2 separate regions of the Homo sapiens genome follow, and region 1 is linked to region 2. Evidence: promoter capture Hi-C in human tissues and cell types (Jung and others, 2019). All regions are on one chromosome and are shown on one strand. The core of a region is centred on a gene start or on the middle of the fragment in contact, and the rest is flanking DNA. Distances in the headings are between cores, read along the strand shown. Region 1 overlaps CDK10 (cyclin dependent kinase 10). Region 2 holds the start of ACSF3 (acyl-CoA synthetase family member 3).

Region 1 (3,251 bases), core at 31-2,530, 600 kb after region 2:
CGTCACTGAGGTGAGAAGAGGTGAAAGCTTCCTTTCACCTGGAAGTCACACGGTCCCTTCAGCTCACATTCCAAGGCCAGATGCCACTGGGTAGCGTTTCATAACTTCCAGGAGGTAGTGATACAGGGATGCTGGGACAGCAGCCTCTGCCACAGATGTATTTTTGTATGTGGGATTGAAAGGGAGTATCTGAGTGGCCGCCTCTGATATTTCTTTCAAAGCATTGGCCCAGTATCGTCACCACCTTTTCTCATCAGAAAAGCCCAAGAGGCCGGGTACGGTGGCTCACGCTTGTAATCCCAGCACTTTGGGAGGCCAAGGCGGGCAGATCACTTGAGGTCAGGAGCTCAAGACCAGCCTGGCCAACATGGTGAAACCCAGTCTCTACTAAAAATAGAAAATTAGGCGGTTGTGGTGGCACCTGCCTGTAATCCCAGCTACTCAGGAGGCTGAGGCCGGAGAATCACTTGAACCCAGGAGGCGGAGGTTGCAGTGAACCATGTTCTTGCCACTGCACTCCAGCCTGGGCAACAGAGCGAGACTCAGTCTCAAAAAAAGAAAAAAAAAGCCCAAACGTGTGGTTGCCTTTCTGTTTGGTGAGCAAGACGTGAGTGGGCTCCCTGGTACAAATTCCATTTGAAATTTCCTCAGTTGTTCCATCAGCTGCCAAATTTCCACACTGGCAACACCCTTCTGTTTCAGCTGGGACGATGCCGGAGTGTGAAGGAGTTTGAGAAGCTGAACCGCATTGGAGAGGGTACCTACGGCATTGTGTGTGAGTGGCCAAGGCTAGGACATGTGGCCGCAGCTCGTGGCTGTGACAGTGTGGGACGAGACTGTCGAAGCAGCAGCCGCGTTGGGGCTGGAAGGGACTCAGACCCTGTGCTCTGAAACAGGGCAGAAACCTGTTCAGGAACTTCAATTCCTGATGTAGTTATCACAAACATTGTACCATTTCTGGGTAAACGTAAGCATCCGGTTGCTAATGCCCATAATCCAAACGTGTCACTGCAGAGTACACAGAACTGTTAGAGAAATAAAATACAGAACTTTCCAGAAGCAGCAGGAGCTGGACATGGTGCTCATGTCTATCACCTCAGCAACTCTGGAGGAGTCACCTGAGCCCAGGTGTTTTTTCTTTTTGTTTGTTTTTGAGATGGGTCTTGCTCTATTGCCCAGACTGGAGTGCAGTGGCATGATCATAGCTCACTGCGGCCTCGACCTCCTAGGCTCAAGTGATCCTCCCACCTCAGCCTCCTGAGTATCTGGGACCACAAGAGTACATAAGCACACCCAGCTAATTTTTAAATTTTTGGTAGAGATGGGATCTCCCTATGTTGCCCAGGCTGGTCTTGAACTTCTGGGCTCAAATGATCCTCCTGCCTCGGCCTCCCAAAGCACTGGGATTACAGGTGTGAGCCACTGCACCCGGCCAAGCCTAGGAGTTTGAGGCTGCAGTGAGCTGTGATCACGCCACTGCACCCCAGCCTTGGCAACAGAGTGAGACCCTGTCTCAAAAAAACCAAAAACACCACACACAACTAAAGGTTATAACAGATGTGAAATTGGCGTAGGTCATTCTGGAAGCTGCACACATTAGCAGGATGTTTTGTAGAGCCATCTTCACACAAAATAAGGTTTGCTTTTTTCTGCATAGAGTACCTTATTTGCTTTTAGGACATTACAAGAGAGCACAAAGCAGTGATCTGCATGCTAAGGAGGACATGGAGAGCCTGGAGCCACAGAACTGAGTGGCTGGAGGCCAGGGTCCAGCACAGAGCAAAGTTGGGCACCCCCTGCCCAGTTCAAATGAGGAAACCCTCCGGGGGAACGCGTCTCGGGCTAGGGGCGTTGCACAGAGTGGGGACTGAGTGTCACTGGGCATGAGGTTGTCAGAGGAAAGAACGGGGACCCCTGTGGCTCAGGGAGAGCCTCCCGTTCAGCGCTAGGGAGCCCACGAGGGGCATCGAGATGATGTCATCACCAATGTGTTTCCATTCCAGATCGGGCCCGGGACACCCAGACAGATGAGATTGTCGCACTGAAGAAGGTGCGGATGGACAAGGAGAAGGATGGTGAGCAGGAAATTGGGGTGTTGGGACCTCGCACTGGGAGGAGGCAGAAGGATGTGAGTTACCTGAAGTTTCCTCAGAGCGACTGCACGGTGCTTGTAGCGGGGGCCGGCCTCTGGGAGGGTTCTGGTGTGGCCCAGCACATCACCCCCAGGTCCACACGCAGCCTCAGCTGTCTGCCAGGAGGGCTCTGCAGTCTCCATCCCCTCCTCCCCCTCCTGTCTGGTGAGGCCACCTCACTGCAGGCTCAGCTCTGCTGTCCCCTCCACCCCCAGCACCTGCCTGTGCAGGCAGGGCCCTGCCATGCCCCACATAGATGTCCACGGTGTTTAGAGAGGTGCCGATTCGTATTTGGTCAAGGAAGAGTTAAAAGTGCTTATTGGGCCGGGCATGGTGGCTCATGCCTGTAATCCCAGCACTTTGGGAGGCCGAGGCAGGCGGATCACCTGAGGTCGGCAGTTCAAGACCAGCCTGACCAACATGGAGAAACCCCATCTCTACTAAAAATACAAAATTAGCCAGGCGTGGTGGCACATGCCTGTAATCCCAGCTACTAGGGAGGCTGAGGCAGGAGAATTGCTTGAACCCGGGAGGCAGAGGTTGCGGTGAGCCGAGATGGTGCCATTGCACTCCAGCCTGGGCAACGAGCGAAACTCCGTCTCAAAAAAAAAAAAATGCTTATTGGGGTCGCCCCAATTCTCCCTGAGGTGGGGACACTGCAGCACCTGCTATCAGGTGTTCGTGAAGCCCAAGAGTGGCTGGGGTTGGGGCTTCCCCGCCATCACTGGGGTGGGGCTCGCTGAGGCCACCTCCCTCCCCAGGCATCCCCATCAGCAGCTTGCGGGAGATCACGCTGCTGCTCCGCCTGCGTCATCCGAACATCGTGGAGCTGAAGGAGGTGGTTGTGGGGAACCACCTGGAGAGGTACGTGGTCTCCTGGTCTGCACATTGGGCCCTAGGGAGCATGTGTCTTGGGCTAGAGGTGTTGCACAGAGCGAGGACTGAGTGTCACTGGGCATGAGGTTGTCAGAGAAGAGATGACCCCACCTCACCGCCTGGCTCAGCCCATTGTCTGAGGGGGACACAGGTTGTCCTGCCCATGTCCCCTCCTGCAGCAGGGGAGGCTCCACTTCCACCCCTTAGGAGAAGGCCGGAGAGTGGCATGCATCTTCTGTTTCT
Region 2 (5,584 bases), core at 807-3,306:
TGAAACTACCGTATTTAGCATATTGGATGCCTGCCTGAGCCCACTGATTTTTTTATCTTTCCTCTCCTGTTTTTCATCTCTCGGTCTTTCTGTTCTATTTCTAGGAGACGTCCTTTAGCCCTTCCCTTAGGGTTTTTACTCAGGCTGTTGTATTCTGACCCCTCCAGCCCCCCTTTATGTTACTGGAACGCTCTTTCTCGGGGCATCTCGCTCTGGACTCATGGGGGCTGTCGCTTCCCTTGTCTCCCTGAGGGTATTAACAGGGGGTGGTTTTGGGGGTCTCTTCACTCTGCACAGCCTGGCTGCCTGCAGTTGTTCTGCTGGTTGTTTCAGCCCACGTCTCTCTGGCTAGAGGCTGTCCTCCAATGTCTGCTAATCCCTGACTGCTCCTGCTTCCCACCTGCCACTATGATGCTGACCAGAGCCGAGGCACAGATGGGACCCCTGCTCATAGGATGACTGGGCCATTTCTCGGAGACTGCACCCTCCCCCCACTGCCACCCTCACAGAGCCATGGCCAAGGACCACGGGAGCTGTCACCCTGTCCCAAGTCCTGTCTCTAGGTGGGTGACGCAGCCTGAGCTCTTCAACTTCCCAGGGATAGAAATTTGCGCACACACGTCCTGGGGCTGAATCCTGATGTTAGACGCCCTCCTTACTCTTCCTACTGCCCTCGTCGGAAACACCATTCAGCCTGCTGAGTCCTGGAAGCAGACAGAATTCTGACACCAGATCAAGCCTGTCCCAGTGGCAGAGGGTTGGACTTGCTTTTTCTGCATGATACCTAGCAGGGTGGCAACCAGAGGCACTAGAAGTTTGGGTTTGTTCTCCCACGCTCTGTGTTACAAACTTCCCCCAGATCCAGCTCCTTCCTCCCAGGAAAACCATCCTCGGGCTCCTGAAGTGCCCTTTCCTGAGCTTTCCAAGGACACAACTGCTGCCCCAGCAATCATCACAAGAGAGGAAGATGGGCATGGAAAATAATACACTTACAAAAAAACTGTGCAAGGTTCTGCAGATAATTTTTTTTTTTTTTTGAGACAGTCTCACTCTGCTGCCCAGGCTGGAGTGCAGTGGCGCAATCTCAGCTCACTGCAGTCGCCACCTCCCAGGCTCAAGAGATTCTCCTGCCTCAGCCTCCCGAGTAACTGGGATTACAGGCACCTGCCACCACTCCCGGCTAATTTTTGTATTTTTAGGAGAGACAGGGTTTCACCATGTTGGTCAGGCTGGTCTTGAACTCCTGACCTCGTGATCTGCCTACCTCGGCCTCCCAAAGTGCTGGGATTACAGGCGTGAGCCATCACACCAGGACGGTTCTGCAGATAATTTGTACTACTGTTTGCCAGTACATGTCTTTGTGTTATTAGTATTCATTTTAGGGGAAAAACCCTCAAATTTCAGCCAACTGGACTTTGTGTTTGGCTTTAAATGTTTTCCGCCACTGTCCATCCAACAGTCTCGCTTCATATTCGTATCCTGGTTCCCAAGTCCCTTCGAGGAGAGATTCTCAAATGCGGTCCGTTTAAAATCACCCAAGAAATACAAAAATTAGACAGGCATGATGGCGGGCGCCTGTAGTCCCAGCTAATTGGGAGGTTGAGGCAGGAGAATCACTTGAACCCGGGAGGCGGAGGTTGCGGTGAGCCGAGATCACACCACTGCACTCTAGTCTGGGCGACAGAGCGAGACTCCATCTCAAAATAATAATAATAATAAGAAAAAGTAACAACAATAATAATAATAATAAAATCACCCAGGAGCTCAGCGTGCAGACCCCCAGCCGCAAAGCCCAGAGAGCCCCTTTTGGGAGGACGGGGCGAGGCCCAGCAATCCGCGTTGGGAGTGGTCCCGCGCGCCGTTCTGATCTGGGCAGCCCTGGGCTAGCGGAGACCACGGCGCCTTGCCTCGGCCACGGCTCACGAGACGCCCGCGGCCCCGACCCCGCCACGACGGGACGGGCGGGACAGGGGAACACGCGCGCCCGGAACCCGCCGCCACGGCGCCGCGCCGGGGGGACGCGCTTGGGCGACGGACGCGCCGCGCCGGGGAAGCTGTTGGGCGCCGGAACTGGTCCGGCCCGACTCACGACCCCGCGGGACCCGGCCGGAACCCGGCCCGACCCCGGCGCGCGCGCGGCGGAGGACGAGGAAGAGTTGTGGCGAGGCAGATCCTGCCCCGTGGCCGCGGCCGTCTCGTAGGTGCGGGCGGCGGGGCCCACGGGACCGCGGCGGGGTCGGCCGGGCGCAGAGCTCTCGGGGGCGCGGGCTCCGGCGCCCGCCCCTGGGTCGCAGCTGGGCTTGAGCCGTGGCCCGTGGCGCGGTCGCTTCCCCGCGAGCCGCCTGGGGCCGGGCGTCGGCCTTCCCGGGACGCCGAGCCTCTCGTGTCCGGTGGGGAGCGGGGCCCCCGCGCGGGGTGCGGGGAGAGAAGCTGTGCGGACGCCGGGCCCGGTGATACCGTCGAGCCGGCGGGGTCCGTGTTCAGGCATCCTCAGAACGAATCGTCTTTGGTTGTGTTTGGAATAAATTCACTTCCATTTCTCATTGGGCTTCAGAAGTCACCCTTGAAGTACTCCCCGTTTTAGTTGTTTGCTGCGTGCACCTTGCTGGGCGCGTGGGGCACAGGTTCACAGCCGGCCTAGCCCCTGAGGGCATGTAGATCTATGAGCAAGCAATGGAGACGTGCGGCCGGCCGTGAAGTATTTGGAAGGTACTGCAGGCAGCCCATTCCCTGGAGAGAGGGAAGGTTTAAAGGGGTGAGGCCCGGTGCAGTCAGGAGTTGATGTTGCTGTCCTGAGTCTAAATTCCACCAGGCAGGCCAGGTGCAGTGGCTCATGCCTGTAATCCCAGCGCTTTGGGCAGCAGAGGCAGGAGGATCACTTGTGGCCAGGAGTTCAAAGCCAGCCTGGGCAACATGGTGAGACCCCTATCTCTACAAAAAAATGTAAAAATTAGCTGGGTGTGGTGGCGTACACCTGCACTTCCAGCTACTGGTTAGGCTGAGGCACGAGGATTTCTTGAGCCCAGGAATCGGAGGCTGCAGTGAGCCATGACAGCACCATTGCACTCCAGCCTAGGTGGCAGAGCAAGACACTGTCTCAATAAATAATAAAACTGAAAAAGAAGAGGTGATATTTGAACTGGGCTTGGAAGAATGATTAGGAATTTGCTAGAAAGGGAACACGTTTAGAGATAGGAACACGAATTGTGTCTGGGGCATAGTTGTTGCTTTCCCATCCTGGGAGGACAGACATTCGTGTTAGGGCCCAAGGCTGAGACCTTGTTGAGGAGGGGGTTCACATGGTGGACCCAGGAGCACGGGTGTTACTACCGGTGGACCCTGGGGACCCTGCGAGCTTTGTAGCGTGAAGCCTGGCTCAGGCTGGTGTCCTCTCCGCAGGTGTTGGAGGACATAAGATGAGGCTTCCCTTGCTCTTGCTCCTTTGGCTCTGAACCATCTCCTCAAGGCAGACAGAAATGGCGGATTAAACTGTGGGCTTGGGATAGTTGTAAGTGTCACCTTTCCAGATGGCATTTTTAAAATAGTATTTTTCTTCCTAAAATGGATATGGGTTTCAAGTGTATTTTTCCTTTTTGGTTTTTTTTATTTGAATGTACTGCTCATGAATGCAATGTGAATGTCTGTTACTTAAAAATGTAATTTTGAAAATAACCCTCCAAACCACAGGTGTGATGCTGAAACGCATCCTGCCCCGCAGGCCGAGCACAGCCCTCCTCTGCCCCACGCTCTCATCGGGGCAGCCGACAGGAGGAAGTGCCGGCATCCACTTCAAACACAAGGTCTGGGGGGGCGGGGGTGTCAGGTGTGGTGGTGAACAGGTCAGGTGTCGTTTTATTCATGTTGAAAGCAGCCCTTCATTTGAATGCGAGTGTCATTCTCATCTAGTAATTTTTGTTGCGAGGCTCCATGGGGAGCACCCTGCTGAGCACGGCGCGGCCGTTTGTCTTCTGCCTGGCCTGTGCCGGGCCATTCGTACATTCTCACGTGAAGCCTGTGAGGCAGGTCTTGTTACTGTGCCATCTTAGCGGTGGGAAGTGAAGGGCTAGGCCAGTGAGGAAATGAGGACAAAGGCAGCAGCCGTTCAAGTCGAAGCCTGTGGTGACTAACTCTGCCATTAACCAGCACTCCAGTTAGGAGGGAAAAGATGCATCCCGCTGCGCTGCATGTGTGTTCCCGAGAAGCCCCAGTGCCTTAGTGGTCTGATCTCAGAACCTGATGGCTAGAACACCGAGAGGTCCTGCCTCCCTCCCCGAGGGCTGGAGAGCCACTGTTTTCAGTGGTTCCAGTACGCCTTCACCAAGGAGGCTGTCCTGGCTCAGGCACCTTTCTCAGCTTCTGACTAGAGTCCTTGCCCAGCCACGTGGTGACGCCGCTGACCTCGGGTTATCAGGGTGCTGCGTAGCAGGGGTATGAAGCTGGCTGAGGGTGGAAGCCCCTGACTGAACTGCATTTGTCTGGTGGGCAGTGTCCCTCCACACTGTGCTCCTGGTGGTGATGGGGAGCCCCACGGTAGAAGGGGTCCCAGTGGTTGAAAGGTGAGGTTCTCTCTGAGGAAGCTGGGGTGCCTCTGGACCGGGAGGTGTGCAGGAAGACCGCGCACAGCCATCTGCCCTGAGTAGGCTCTGTCTGCGTGTTCGAGGCAGGGCTCTGATCCGATGACCGTGAAGATTCAACCTCTGTGCTGAAGAGAACTGATGACTGGGCACTTCATTGTCCCAAGCCTGAGGGACTGAAAAGCTGGTTTGATGGGGCTGGTTCCGTTTTCCACATGCTTGGTGGGAGAATAAATCAGCACCTCGTTGGAGGGGACTTTGTCAGTATTTCTCAAAATTAAAGATGACCCAGCAATGTGACTTCCCGGCATCTGTGCCCTAGACACCCCGAGTGAACACAGCTGTAGGTGCCAGGACTCCCCCCTTCCCTCGGCCGACTCTGGCTAGGCCAGGCCCTTCTCACCCTCCATAGGAAGCCTCCCCACCAGGCCCCCGTCCGTTCCTCCTGCCCGTGGCCTCTCCTCATAGCGCGTGGGCTCTCTGGGAGCTGGGACCATGTCACACGGGGCCAGTCACATCTGTCACCTCCCAGGGGCTGGTGGCAGGAGTGCCCACCCACAGGCAGCGCTCTGGATTCCGCGCAGGAGAACAGCAGTTTCTTCTCAGCCTGCACTTTGAGTTTGCCCAGCCCAGCTGTGCACGTCAGCATCACCAGCTCTGCTGAGCTCTGGGTTTTGTGGGGAATCCACTCTTATTCTTCCGTGGCTTCGCCCTGCGGGGTGACTCAGGAATTTGTAGAAATGCCAAAAGGGGGGCTGTGCTCTGGTAGTGTGTGCTGTGTGTGCTCAGCGTGTGGTTAGCGTGTGCTCAGCGTGTGGTTACCGTGTGCACAGCACGAGCTTGAACTCGCTTTGTCAGAACTCGGTTCTTTGTGGTCTGCAGAAACCTTTTCTGAGCAGCAGCTTTAGTTAGAGGGAAGCCGTCATCCCCCTTTTATGTGCTTCTGTCATATTGAGAAACAGCTACACACAATGACAGGCACCTTCTATATTGAGTGAGTGTCGCCGGCC

The links. Contacts are between HindIII fragments. The study calls those that stand out against the background at their distance.
Region 1: a contact is called between a fragment that was not itself captured here and the fragment with the promoter of ACSF3 in region 2, in 2 of the 25 tissues and cell types used here (dorsolateral prefrontal cortex and lymphoblastoid cells).

The regions. Positions count from the first base shown.
Region 1 is chr16:89,688,550-89,691,800 of GRCh38, forward strand. CDK10 (cyclin dependent kinase 10) reads left to right here. Exons shown (of 13, transcript NM_052988.5): 2 at 703-775; 3 at 2,004-2,075; 4 at 2,894-2,996. Among named protein-coding and RNA genes, the nearest start is that of LINC02166, 3.3 kb to the left of the region's middle. The HindIII fragment of the contact is 5,257 bases long and covers 1-3,251 here.
Region 2 is chr16:89,091,796-89,097,379 of GRCh38, forward strand. It overlaps ACSF3 (acyl-CoA synthetase family member 3), which reads left to right and starts at 2,057. Exons shown (of 11, transcript NM_001243279.3): 1 at 2,057-2,201. RefSeq lists a silencer at 1,821-2,230 and enhancers at 2,651-2,840, 4,060-4,229. The HindIII fragment of the contact is 24,302 bases long and covers 1-5,584 here.